Linked DNA regions of Homo sapiens: all the other regions are linked to region 1. Evidence: promoter capture Hi-C in 16 types of primary human blood cells and fetal thymus (Javierre and others, 2016). All regions are on one chromosome and are shown on one strand. The core of a region is centred on a gene start or on the middle of the fragment in contact, and the rest is flanking DNA. Distances in the headings are between cores, read along the strand shown.

Region 1 (4,714 bases), core at 470-2,969:
TAGTATATATCTGAATACTAAGCAGTTTACATATATTCATTTAATCTTAATACCCTGTGAGGTTGGTACTATTATTATCCTCAATTTACAGGTAGGTAAAATGGGACAGCGAGCTTAAGCAGTCAGTCCAAAGTCACTCAGTAAGGAAGTATTAGAGCAGGATTTAAACCCAGATGTCTGACTTCAGAGCCTGTAACTTCATTAGATCATGTACCATTTTTCAACAGTACATGTATGTAATTTAAAATTAAATATATATATGGAGAATAGAAGTTCAAATTTTTTTCTGAACACCAGTGAAAACAAAGATTTAGGAGGGGTGGTTGGTAGCGTGGATGTGGAAAGGAGCCTAGCAGTAGACTAGGTAAGAAATAACAGTATCTTGGATTATGGAGGTAGTGATGGAGAGAAGGGGATGGATTTACATGTTTAGTAAGTAAAATTGGACTGCGTGATGGCTTGGATATGGAAGTTAGGGATGAATAAAGTGTCAAGGATGACTCTTTGGTTTCTGACTTGCATAAATGGATTAGAGAGTGAGACACAGGCAGAGGCCATAGGAACAGGTTGGGTCATTCTGCTCAGTTTTTCTTTGGACCACAGTAGAGACCACAGCACACTGCTCTTTCAATACTCTGTTAAATGACAAACTTATTACAGGTTATTTCTGTCATAAACATAAAAGCTTCACTCTGTCAATTATGTTTCCTATCTTGCGTTAAAAATTACATAGTCAAAATTTCATCCATTTTCTTTTAAAAATGTGGAGTTAAGTCTTATAAAATGGGGAAGTGAATGATAGTTGCTGTAACAGGCTAATAGAAGGTTTAGCACCCCTCTTCTGTATACTAACTTTTTAAGTTATATTTATTCATCCCTTAAGATGTGGGACAGGTGGAAAAATTACCTTTCCACTTTGTATTTATGATTTCTAAGTACTAAACTTTTAAAGCCTGTTAATATTATCCCTTCCCAGGTCTTAGAATAATTACACAAAAGTACTGGACTGGTTTAAAAGATATTTGATTCTAGTCTATTTTGTTCATTTGTAGAATTTCTAGTGGTCTAAAAACGATTCTTTTACAAATCAGGAGAAATAGGAATACCTACTATCGGTTTGAATCTCAAACGAACAGCCACAAGAAAAATGGACTTTTTAAAAAAAATTATCTAACAGCATGTTGTCCCAATAAATAATGCTGAAGGAGATTCCTTCTCGTTTCAAATTTGCCAGAAACTTCCCGTTTAACCTCAGCAAAATACAGATCGTTTTGATCTATGGCGTTACCGCACAACCCTGTCAGGTCACATCACTAAACTGCAGATAACAGCGACAAGGCCGAAAACTATGTTAGACGGATCCGCGTCCATACCCCCCATCAGTTAATTTTAACTCTTCATTCGGTACAGGTCACTCTACACATGCTTCCCTGCAAAATGCTTAAGCTAGACACAGTGTACAGATAACTTTCACAGAACCGCAAGGGCTTGATGCTCCCCCAACAGAACGGCTTGAGCTTTCCCCAGCGCAATTCAGAAATGCTGTGGCGGTCGCCAGACTCTTCGGGTAGCTCCCGGCAGCTCCGAGGTAGCGCTCCCCTCCCCAACCATCGCCCTCCGGGATGGGCCGCACCGAAGAGCCCGCTCCTCAGCTAGGGCACGAAGTGCGCCGCCGCGATGGGCAGCTGGAGGAAGGGGCGTGACGCAAGTGGAACTCCCGCGTGACGTCGCGCGGGCTCCCGGGCGGGGCGGGTCCGGCCGCCTCCGAGCCCGGCCGGCAGCCCCCGGCCTTAAAGCGCGGGCTGTCCGGAGGGGTCGGCTTTCCCACCGAGGATTTGGCACTCTGGTGAGGGAAAAGGGCGAAAGAGAAAAGCGAGCAGCCGTCCTTTCACAGCCTCAGAAAGTGCTCGCTTCCCTTCGGGGGCTTTCGCGAATCCCGAGGCAATCTCGGAGGCGGTGAGTAAAAGCAATCTCTTTACCCCACCCGGAGCTCTGGGTCGGAGCGACTGCTTCTGGTCTGGAGCTGCGTGCTTGGCGAAGGGCTCCCGGGGTAGGGGTGGCTCCCGGCTCTGGGGTTGTGTCTGATGAAATAGGCCGGGCCCGGGCTACACTCGGTGGTGGTGGACCGGCGGGAGGACGAGCGCTACCTCAGTACTACTTCTGGGTCTCCCGCGCGGGCTGAGGAAGCGCCTTTCGCCGCCAAGCCCGCCCCGCGCATGCGCCGACTGCGGCTCGCGCGCGCGCTTCGGAGGTTTTTTGGCCAGACCCGCACGCGGAACCGGCGCGGGCACCTGGGGAGAAATGGATGGAGAAGGGACCTGGCTGGAAAGCCTTTGCCCCGCTGCTCTGCTCCGCCCATAAGAGGACCCCTGAAATGTCCCGTGCAGTTTGTTCAAGTCCCCTGTGTGATGAAATGTGCCTCTCGCCTTACCCGTGTGAGAATACCTGTGGTGTGGCAGCGAGTATTTTGGTGAGCACCTGCAGTGTAGTGGTTTATACTAAGGAATACACACAAATTACAGGCCTTTGAGCCCAGAATGCAACTTGGGAGGTAAGACGTGACGTTCTGAGAGATTGAAAAATGTACATTGTCGTCGTGCCTCGAATAACGGTTCATTGCAGAGAGAGATGCTAACAAAAAGTGCCGGGCATGCGGGTAGGTGGAAAGGGTTTTGCGAGCCAGAATTTGCAAGTTGAATGTTTTGTTTTTATGTTTTGTTTTTAAGGCACTGTACATCACTTACTTGAAGATAGATACGTAAAGGATGCTTATTTTACACTCTTTAAACGAATATGTTAATACTTTTTCGGTCATTGAAGTAATTAAACCTTCATTTTAAACTGTTGACTTAATAGAAATCGTTTATGTCTTCTTTTTTTTTCTTTTTGCTGCAGAGAGGTATTTTTTCTTTATTTTATTATTATTTTTTATACTTTAAGTTCTAGGGTACATATGCACGACGTGCAGGTTTGTTACATATGCATACATGTGCCATGTTGGTGTGCTGCACCCATTAACTCGTCATTTACTTTAGGTATATCTCCTAATCCTATCCCTCCCCCCACCCCACGGCAGGCCCCGGTGTGTGACGTTCCCCTTCCTGTGTCCAGGTGTTCTCATTGTTCAGTTCCCACCTATGATTGAGAACATGCGGGCTACAGAGAGGTATTTTACAGTTATTGGTCTCATGACTTGATTTCCATCCCTGACATAGCCATGTCCCAGCTGTGTGACCTTGGACATTTACTGCCTTACGCCTCTTCCCCCAACTCTAAAATGAAATTATAGTAGCTGTCTTACAGAGTTTTTCTGAAGGTTAGGTAGAATATAAATATTCTATAATATATAATTATATATTAAATAATATATAAATACAAATATTAATATTAATATTCTATAGTTTCTGGTATGTGGGAAACAAATGGTGACTTTTATTCACAATTATATATAGGCCCATTTGTTTATCTGTTAGAGTTAAAGATAGAATAAAAACCTCTTTGGTAACAAAACTAATGCAGTGCACCTAATTCTACTTTTAAAAACTTTTTTACAGAAATAAATGTACACAAGAGAAATACTGGAATTATGAACCCCATTGTATACGCACCCACCCAGCTTCAGAAATTGTTGAAGTTCAGCCCTTGTTTCATCTCTTCACCCAACATCCATTTTTGTTTGTTTTTGCTGGATTTTTTTTTTTTCAAGCAAATCGCAGAGTATATCCCTTTACCTGTAAATATCTCGGTAAATATCCCTTTAACAGATAAGGCCTTTCTAAAAAAAAAACAAACAAAACCGCATCATTATCATACCCAAGAAAATTAATAATTTCCTAATATCTAAAATCCAGCTCATATTTAGTTTCTGGATTATTTTTTAAAAGTCTAATCACAATTTTTGCAAAGCTTGATAGTTTATTTTTGTAGCTCTTGACGGTTCACCAAGTGGCTTCACATATACTCCTGCTCCCTTCAGAATTACTCTTTCAGCCCCTTTGTCAGAGACCTCAGGAAATGGTTAGCAGGAAACAATCAGTTTGCTTTGGCTAAGGAGCCAGATGTGAGGTTTAGTAGACTTGCTGATCACTATTACTTTTTAAGTTGTAGCTAATTAATGGTTTCATTTTAAGAACACATATTAAAATATTTACTAATCCATTCAAACTTCTTAACCTGTTGGTTTCTTCAAGGACTATGTAATAAACTTAATGATTCACCTTTATTCTAAGAGAGGCATGAAGTAACATTACCCTAATTGTCTTATGACTCTAAGATGTTTCTGTATTCATAGATCTTTGCTGTGTTTAAATCTTACTGACTTCTCTTGTTTTTGGAAAGTTATACAGATCCTCATCTGTGTTAATACATCAGTCAACTGTCTCTTTTATAAAATATATATAGATATGTGTATATATGTGGATGCTTGTTAAGTCAAGACTAAGAATATTTTTCAGTTTTGGGCTCAGTATGTTTCACCAATTCAAAAGTTAAAAAAACCAATTTTTTTTTTTAATTGAGACAGGGTCTCTGTCGCTCAGGCTGGAATGCAGTGGCACGATCTCCGCTCACTGCAAATTCCGCCTCCCAGTTTCAGGCAATTCTCCTGCCTCAACCTCCTGAGTAGCTGGGGCCACAGGCACGCACTACCACACCTGGCAAATTTTTGTATTTTTAGTAAAGATGGGGTTTCACCATGGTGGCCAGGCTGATCTCA
Region 2 (4,623 bases), core at 1,307-3,806, 510 kb after region 1:
TGAAAATATGTACTTGTATTATTAATTGAGATGTTTGAGACCAAAGGGGCATTATCATTAATTACTTTATTTATTTATTTATTTATTTATTTATTGAGATGGAGTCTTACTCTATCGTCAGGCTGGAGTGCAATGGCACGATCTTGGCTCACTGCAACCTCTGCCTCCCGGGTTCAAGCGATTCTCCTGCCTCAGCCTCCCGAGTAGCTGGGACTACAGGCGCACACCACCACACCCAGCTAATTTTTTTTGTATTTTTTAATAGGGACGGGGTTTCACCATGTTGGCCAGGATGGTCTTGATCTCTCTTTTTTTTTTTTTTTTTGAGACGGAGTCTCGCTCTGTCGCCCAGGCTGGAGTGCAGTGGCGCAATCTCGGCTCACTGCGAGCTCTGCCTCCCGGGTTCACAGCATTCTCCTGCTTCAGCCTGCCGAGTAGCTGGGACTACAGGCGCCCGCCATCATGCCCGGCTAATTTTTTTGTAATTTTTTTTTTTAGTAGAGACGAGGTTTCACCGTGTTAGCCAGGATGGTCTCGATCTCCTAACCTGGAGATCCGCCCGCCTCGGCCTCCCAAAGTGCTGGAATTACAGGCGTGAGCCACCGCGCCCCGCCCATTATTTTTTTTGATAATATATTCATAAATGCTCAATAAATGTTTATTGAATGAAAAAAGAGGGAAGCTTGGATAAAACAATGGCTTGTGGGATTTTTCCCCCACAAATCTTTTTTTAATAATAAATTTTTATGATAGCACACATGCAGAATTCTCAAAAGATGACAGAAGCAGTAGCACACATTTTGAAACTCCTTAAATCACCCTTAAAAAACAGAGAGAATATAAATATCTCCTATGAATATAGATGCAAAAATCTTCAACCAAACACTAGCAGAAGGAATTCAGCAACATGAAAAAGAATATACAGCTTGACCAAATGGGACTTATCCCAGGAATGCAACGTTGGTTTAACCTACAAAACCAGTTCATATAATACACAATATCTAATAAAGGATAATTTATTATATTGATATAATAAAGGATACCTAGACATAGATAAGACATTTGACAAGATTCAACACCCCTTCGCAATAAAAACATTCAGAAGCTATGGCCGGGCGTGGTGGCTCACGCGTGTAATCCCAGCACTTTGGGAGGCCGAGGCAGGTGGATCACGAGGTCAGGAGATGGAGACCATCCTGGCTAACACAGTGAAACCCCGTCTCTACTAAAAATACAAAAAAAAAAAAAATTAGCAGGGCGTGGTGGCGGGCGCCTGTAGTTACAGCTACTCGGGAGGCTGAGGCAGGAGAATGGTGTGAACCCAGGAGGCGGAGCTTGCAGTGAGCCGAGATCGCGCCACTGCACTCCAGCCTGGGCGACAGAGCTAGACTCCACCTCGAACAAACGAACAAACAAACAAAACATTCAGAAGCTAGAAATAGGAGGGAACTTCCTCAATATCATAAAAGGTTTCTATAAAAACCCACACCCTAACATCATAGCTAATGATGAAAGAGTGCTTTCCTCACTAAGATCAGAAGCCAGACTAGAATAACCAACTTGTCACTTCTATTCAACACTGTGTTGGAGGCTCTAGCCAGGACAACAAGGCAAGGAAAAATAAATAAATAAAAGGCATCCAGATTTCAAAAGAAGAAATAAAACTATCTCTAATACAGAAGACAAAATTTCACATATAGAAAACCATAAAGAATACACTAAAAAACTGTTAGAACTAGTAGATGAATCCAGCAAGTTGCAGAATGCAAGATCAATATACAAAAATCAATTATATTTCTATACACTTGCAATGCACGATCTGAAAATAAAACTAAGGAATAAGTTTTATTTAAAATACCATAAAAAGCATAATACTTATGAAAAATTGGCAAAATAAATGAAAAATTTATTATCTGAAAACTACAAAATATTTTTGAAGGGCATTAAAGAAGACCAATTGAATTAATTAATAAATAAATAAAATTAAGCAGAAAAATATCCCATGCTTATGGATTGGAAAACTGGATATTATTAAGATGGCAATAATCCCCAAGTTGATTCTACAGATTCAATACAGTCCCAATCAGAATTCTACCTGGTTTATTTTTCTCTGCAGAAATTAACTAACTGATCCTAAAATTCATATGGAAATTAAAGAGACCCTTTATAGCTAAAAATCTTAAAAGAGAAGAACAAAGTTAAAGGATTCATAGTTCTTAATTTCAGAGATTATTACAAAGCTACACTCAAGACAGTATGGTACTGGCATAAGGATACACATACAGACCAATGGAATAGAACTGAAACCCCTCACGTTTATGGCCAGTTGATTTTTGACAAGACAATCCGATGAACAAAGAACAGCACTTTTTAACAAATGATGCTAGAAGCCAGGCACAGTGCTTCACACCTGTAATCCCAGGACTTTGGGAGGCCAAGGCAGGAGGATCACTTGAGCCTAGGAGTTTGAGACCAGCCTTGGCAACATGGTGAAATCCCGTTTCTACAAAATATAAAAATTAAAAAAGTAGCCAGGTGTGGTGGCGCACACCTCCCAGTTACTCAGGAGGCTGAAGCAAGAGAATTGCTTGAGCCTAGGAGGTCAAGGCTGTTGTGAGCCATGATTGTACCACTGCACTCCAACCTGGGTGACACAGCAAGACTCTGTCTCAAAATAAATAAATAAAAATAATTTTCCTTTTGTTTATCCCTTATAGTCGATCATTATATATCAATTTTAAAAGATACTATGCAGTAAAGGGAGCAAAACAAAATCTTTGTTGTTAAAAATGGCAATGGGTTAGATAGGCTTAAGAACTGCTGAGTCCCAGCTGACCCTAACTGAACCATATCTGTAACATTTCATCTAATAATCTTATGAAACTACTCAGCAGTCACTAAATATACTATGGGCTTTCCTGCCCCTATGCCTAGTCTTAGGCTGTTCTTCCACCCAAACTAGCGTTACAGCTTCTCCCCAGCGTTCATGACCTACTTTGGTGCCACGCAGCCTTTCCAGATCTCACTACCCCACAATGAATCCTGAAATGTTTGTGTCTATAGCTGTCATTTGGAAATAAATCATGCACTCTTTGAGATAGAGGTGTTGTATTGTTATTTAATGTTATTGTGTGACTATTGTTATCTCTCCAAGTGCAATCTCACAGTTCTTTGTTTTTCCCAAAGGACTGGGGGCATCCTAGGTAGTTAATAGATAGTTGTTCATTGCCTGAAACAGCTATTTGCAGAATAGACTTATTTCAATATTAAAAACTAAAGAGCCTTATTTCTGTTCTCTTTAGAGACCAAAGAATCTGCTGATTCATGTGTTTAGACAGGGCAGATTCTCAAATAGTTTTGTTCCTGCTGAGAACCAGTGAGTTTGGCTGGGTGCGGTGGGTTACGCCTGTCATCCAAGTACTTTGGGAGGTCGAGGCAGGCAGATCACGAGGTCAGGAGATCGAGACCATCCTGGCTAACACGGTGAAACCCCATCTCTACTAAAAAAAAAAATACAAAAAAATTAGCTGGGTGTGGTGGCGGGTGCCTGTAGTCCCAGCTACTCGGGAGGCTGAGGCAGGAGAATGGCGTGAACCTGGGAGGTGGAGCTTGCAGTGAGCCGAGATTGCGCCACAGCACTCCTGCCTGGGCGACAGAGCGAGACTCCGTCTCAAAAAAAAAAAAAAAAAAAAAAAAGACAGAGAACCAGCAGTGAGTTCATCAGCAGAGAAGACAGGGAGTAGGAGCTGGAGCCAAAGCCTCTAAACATTGCTTACTCTGCCTGACAGCAAAATGGCCGTTTCCCCATTCAAGGACTCACTATTAAATCACATAGGACTAAATGCTGTTATTGGTAAACCACATTTTTCCTATTAGCAACATTTGTAAATGTAGAATTTGCAAATATTGTGCATGTCCTTCTATCTTCCTTTTTAAGGAGTACATAGTTGGTGGCATCAGGTATGTATCTTAACTGTCAACAAGCAACCATTAAAATTGTTAAACCACAAAACCCATGGGAACTCATAAACCATTAAACCCATAACAAGGGATTAATCAACTTCCCTTGTCCTTACAGCCTGCCATCCCTACTTTCTTGCCTCATTTAAAACCTTAGGGTCTTCTGGAACTATTCATTTCCCTCCAGGGCAGGGCAGCATTCTTCACTCTCCCCAGCACAGCTCCCAAAATGTTATTCCTGGCCCCTCAGGTTGTCAGGTCTCTCCAGTCTCTAACCATTCCATTATCATGACCTCTAAATTTCCTTAGCATCATCTACCAATCTCTTGGGTACAATCTGCACATTGTCTAAGACTGTGGCACCGGTACATTCTCTTCCAATCTACCTCAAGTCCTGCCATCTTGCTGGGTGGTTTTAGGGTCCACGCATATCACCCATCCAATACACTGACATTTTTATCCTGATCCGTTAAGCTTCCCAACCTCAACCTCACCACCTCTTCATTATGGCTTCCTCTGACCTCAGAATTGCCTGCATCTTCTCTACCTCTAAAATCCTTCAGTAGCCCACTATCTTTGTTACTTTTTTTAAAAATTGAGGTGAAATTCACATAACATAAAATTAACATTTTAAAGTGTAAAATTCAGCATTTAGCAGATTCA
Region 3 (4,385 bases), core at 862-3,361, 550 kb after region 1:
TTATATTAACTTATGTCCTGGTACCAAGTTGCTGTTTCTGTATAAAGTTAAGCAATGCTATTTTAAGTAGATTATTCCCCCTCAACTTCTCATTGTTAGATTTCAATCGCAAATGGCCTACTTCACATTACAAATAGGTTCCCCCCCTCACACCTTGTAGATTAGAGAGTAGATTTTTTTCCCATAGTAGAAAAAGAAAGTGAAAAATACTGGTTTGCTAAGTAAATAAAAAATCAAATACTGGCTGGGCGTGGTGGCTCACACCTGTAATCCCAATACGTTGGGATGCTGAGGCAGGATGATCACTTGAGCCTAGGAGTTTGAGATCTGCCTGAGCAGCATAGCAGACCTCATCTCTACAAAACATTAGGTGAGTGTGGTGGCATGCATCTCTGGTCCCAGCTACTTGGGAGGCTGAGGCAGGAGGATTCTTAGAGCTCAGGAGATCAAGCCTGCAGTGAGCTATGGTCACACGACTACACTCCAGCCTGGGTGATAGATAAAGACTTGGTCTCAAATAAATTAATAAAATGAAAATATATAAAATACGGAAATAGGGATATTTTGTCTCACATTAAGTTATCAAAATAAGGATGACTAGATAACTTTTATTTCAACAAGATAATTACCAGTTTTCTTTTCATAAAAATTAGTTTTTCTTGCTTACAAAAGTAAGTCATTTATTTGAATTTAAATATTGTAGGAATTCAGAAATGTTCAAGTAAAAGTCCCTCGGCCAGGCGCAGTGGCTCAGGCCTGTAATCCCAGCACTTTGGGAAGCCGAGGTGGGCAGGTCACCTGAGGTCAGGAGTTTGAGACCAGTCTGGCCAACATGGTGAATTCCTGTCTCTACTAAAAATACAAAAATTAGCCGGGTGTGGTGGCACATGCCTGTAATCCCAGCTACTTGGGAGGCTAAGGCAGGAGAATCACTTGAACCCAGGAGGCAGAGGAGCTGAGATGGTGCCACTGCACTCCAGCCTGGGCAACAGAGCAAGACTCTGTCTCAGAAAAAAAAGTAAAAGTCCTTCATATTCCAAAGACCATTGTTTATAGTGTGGCATACATCCCTGCAATTTTTTTCCCCTCAGCATATGGTATTTCCTTTTTTAAAAAACCTTTGAACAAAAAGCAGGATGAAGCGAGGCAGCTGATGGGGAAATGTTGAGCACGGGAGACTCTAAGGAAGATGAAGACAATAGGCCCTAAGATGTGTTAGGAGTACATTTCTTACTGCTCATTTGGGCTCCGGGCATCAGAAGAGATTGTTTTCTGCACCTTTTGAAATTCCAAGCTCTATAGGAGCAGAGAAAAGCTCATCTGATTATATTTTCAAACCTTGATCCTTAGGTTTTTGAAGACAATATTTTTCTATTGGATTTTTGTCAGGATTACATAAAAATAAGTTATCAAAGTGTGTTTTATACTTGGAGACATCAGTTTACTAATTTGAAAGCCTCTTGTTTTTATTCTTTTCCGATTTGTTTCCAGTGTAAAAATAATACAAGGTTGCATTTGGAACAGCATTACTTTTACCATCCTAAGCTTTCCAACTTTCTCCCAGACTTGGCTAGCTTTTTGAGGAGTTAAGATCAAATTCGGTAGATAAGAAAGTGGCAGATGGAGGGGTGGGGAAGGTGGGGTATTCATTACAGAATACATGAGTGAGCTACTACAGATAGCTCTATAAACTTGAGGGAAAAAAATCTGCCACAGGTCTCGGCAGCTTGGGTGGTGGGAGGAGCGGCAGCAGCTGGTGAGCCCAGCTTCCAGAAGGCTCTGGTTTCGCCATTGCCCGTAGGCACCCGGCAGGCCCCCTCCCCACCACCAACATGCCCAGGAGGAAGGTCAGCTCAGTCAAGAGGGCTGTGAAGGAAAAGCCCAGGAGGAGATGGGCACAGTTGTCCCCTAACCCTGCTCCTGCAAAAGTAGAAACGAAGCCAAAAAAGAAGGCAGCAGGAAAGGACAAACCTTCAGACCTAAAAGTGCACACAAAAGGGAAAGGGGGAGCAAAGGGAAAACAGGCTGAAGCTTGAGTCCCTGCCCACCTCCATTCCTATCTTGTCTAGCATGTTTAATTGGCAATAAGTTTTTTTGACTCTAAGTCTCTTGGCCATAGGGGTCCCACTAGGGGACATGAAGGACCCAGGGCCTGTAGCATGCCACCCCAGCATCAATATGGGCCAGAATGAAAGCTTGGCCATCAACACTGCCTCTGGGATGCGTTGACAAAAAAAGAGAAAATATAAACTAAAAAAAAAAAAAAAAAAAAAAAATTAGAAGCCCCCAACAGAATGGATCTCTCTCTTGGCCAAAGGGAATCCAAACAACAACCGAAACAGCCTGAAAACCTAGTTCAGGTCATGACAGGAAGCTGGGAGTCAGTCACGCCTCGCCATACCTTCCCCCACTTTGGAATTCAGGCACAGCTGACCAAGCAAAAGGGCTTCACACCTTTGGAAAGGAAAACCTTTTGGCCGATTCCAAAGGGAATGCGTTAAGGCTGCTCTACTTTCTGTTACCTGGTTTTACCACTTTTAGGCCCATTAATGGTGATCTTATTGTTAGTATTTGGCCCATTGGGCCGAGCATGATGGCTCACACCTGTAATCCCAGCACTTTGGGAGGCTGAGGCGGGCAGATCATGAGGTCAAGAGATTGGGACCATCCTGGCCAATATGGTGAAACCCTGTCTCTACTAAAAATACAAAAATTGGCTGGGCATGGTGGCACGCGCCTGTAGTCCCAGGTACTCAGGAGGCTGAGGCAGGAGAATTGCTTGAACCTGGGAGGCGGAGGTTGCAGTGAGCCGAGATCACACCACTGCACTCCAGCCTGGTGACAGAGTGAGACTCTGTCTCAAAAAATAAATAAAATAATAATAATAAAAATATTTGGCCCATGCGTATTCAACTTCCTTATAAAGTTTATATCTTCTAGGTTACAGCAACTCCATGTAAAGATGATGGTGATGCAAGGATTTCAGCCAATTCCTGTCTCAGCATGGGACTCTCCTGCTAATGCAGCCTGGGATCCTTAGACCAGCAGCCAGAGATTTCCAATCCTTTGGTAGGCAGGGCCAGCGCCCTTAAATCAGCAAGAAGACGACACAGATGACTGACCTCCTCCCTCATCAACCCTTAAGAATAAGGGATGGAAATCTCTGAAGGGGGAATGAGATAGGAAGATCACTGGGTGCTCGCAAGAGGATGGAAGAATCCACACAAGAGCTTAAACAAGAGCTAGGCAAAGAAACTGTGGGATAACAGAAAACCCAAAATCAGGAGGAGAAGGCTGGGTTTGGTGGCTCATGACTGTAATCCCAGCACTGTGGGAGGCTGAGGAGGGCAGATCACCTGAGGTCAGGAGTTCGAGACCAGCCTGTGCAATATGGTGAAACCCCTTCTCTACCAAAAATACAAAAAAAAAAAAAAAAAAATAGCTGGGCATGGTGGCATACGCCTATAGTCCAGCTACTCGGGAGGATCACCTGAGCCCAGGAGACAAAGGTTGCAGTGAGCCGAGATCACGCCACTGCACTCCAGCCTTGGCAACAGAGACAGGGTGACATGTCCATGACTCTTCAGTGCAAACCCAAATCAGGGAGAAAGGGGGTGGTACCTGGGGGTGTGGGACAGTGGGGGGTCCCTGAAATCCCCCCTCTTCCAAAATACCTAATGATTATTTCACCCCCTAATTAAAGAAACACCCATAAAATTAGAAACCCAAACTCCCTCTGTGTGACTCATTCTCACAAACATGCCTGCACTTCTCTCTTCAGTGCATACTATCACTTTGCAATAAAAGCTTTTTGCCTTTCCCTTCATTCTGACTTGTCCCTGAATTCTTTCTCGAAAAGGTGTCAAGAACCTGGAAACCAACTGGGGCGGGGGTCTTACCAGCATCTGCAGACCCTCCTGAAACTTCTGGAAACCATAGGGGGAAAAAAGCAGAAATCACCCACAGTACAAGACAATCACCATATACATTACTCCTGACACTTGTTATATACATATGTACATGCAAATGCAAATGTAGAAAGAAACATGCATTCAGGCCCGGCACGGTGGCTCACGCCTGTAATACCAGCACTTTGGGAGGCCGAGGCGTGTGGATCACCTGAGGTCAAAAGTTCAAGCCCAGCCTGGCCAACATGGCAAAACCCCATCTCTACTAAAAATACAAAAATTAGCTGGGCATGGTGGCAGGCACCTGTAATCCCAGCTACTTGGGAGGCTGAGGCAGGAGAATCACTTGAACCCGGGGGGTGGAGGTTGCAGTGAGCCGAGATCGCACCACTGCACTCCAGTCTGGACCACAGAGGGAAATTCCGTCTCAAAAAAAAAAAAAAGAAAGAAAAAGAAAGAAAGAAAGAAAGAAAGAAA

What was found. Contacts are between HindIII fragments. The CHiCAGO score rates a contact against its expected background, and 5 or more counts as called.
Region 2: a fragment that was not itself captured here is called in contact with the fragment with the promoter of RBBP8 in region 1 in 4 of 17 cell types (total B cells, activated CD4 T cells, total CD8 T cells and 1 more); the score reaches 6.3 in total B cells.
Region 3: a contact is called between a fragment that was not itself captured here and the fragment with the promoter of RBBP8 in region 1, in 2 of 17 cell types (total B cells and naive B cells). The highest score is 7.2, in total B cells.

Annotation. Positions count from the first base shown.
Region 1 is chr18:22,931,609-22,936,322 of GRCh38, forward strand. It overlaps RBBP8 (RB binding protein 8, endonuclease), which reads left to right and starts at 1,720. Exons shown (of 19, transcript NM_002894.3): 1 at 1,720-1,956. RBBP8-AS1 (RBBP8 antisense RNA 1) reads right to left here and starts at 2,156. Exons shown (of 5, transcript NR_198963.1): 1 at 1,980-2,156. MIR4741 (microRNA 4741) reads left to right here and starts at 1,741; the gene lies at 1,741-1,830. RefSeq lists enhancers at 1,450-2,290, 1,974-2,103, 2,464-2,513 and a silencer at 1,764-1,843. The HindIII fragment of the contact is 3,221 bases long and covers 684-3,904 here.
Region 2 is chr18:23,443,353-23,447,975 of GRCh38, forward strand. No RefSeq gene overlaps it. Among named protein-coding and RNA genes, the nearest start is that of RIOK3, 7.6 kb to the right of the region's middle. The HindIII fragment of the contact is 3,752 bases long and covers 681-4,432 here.
Region 3 is chr18:23,483,168-23,487,552 of GRCh38, forward strand. No RefSeq gene overlaps it. Among named protein-coding and RNA genes, the nearest start is that of RMC1, 18 kb to the right of the region's middle. The HindIII fragment of the contact is 164 bases long and covers 2,030-2,193 here.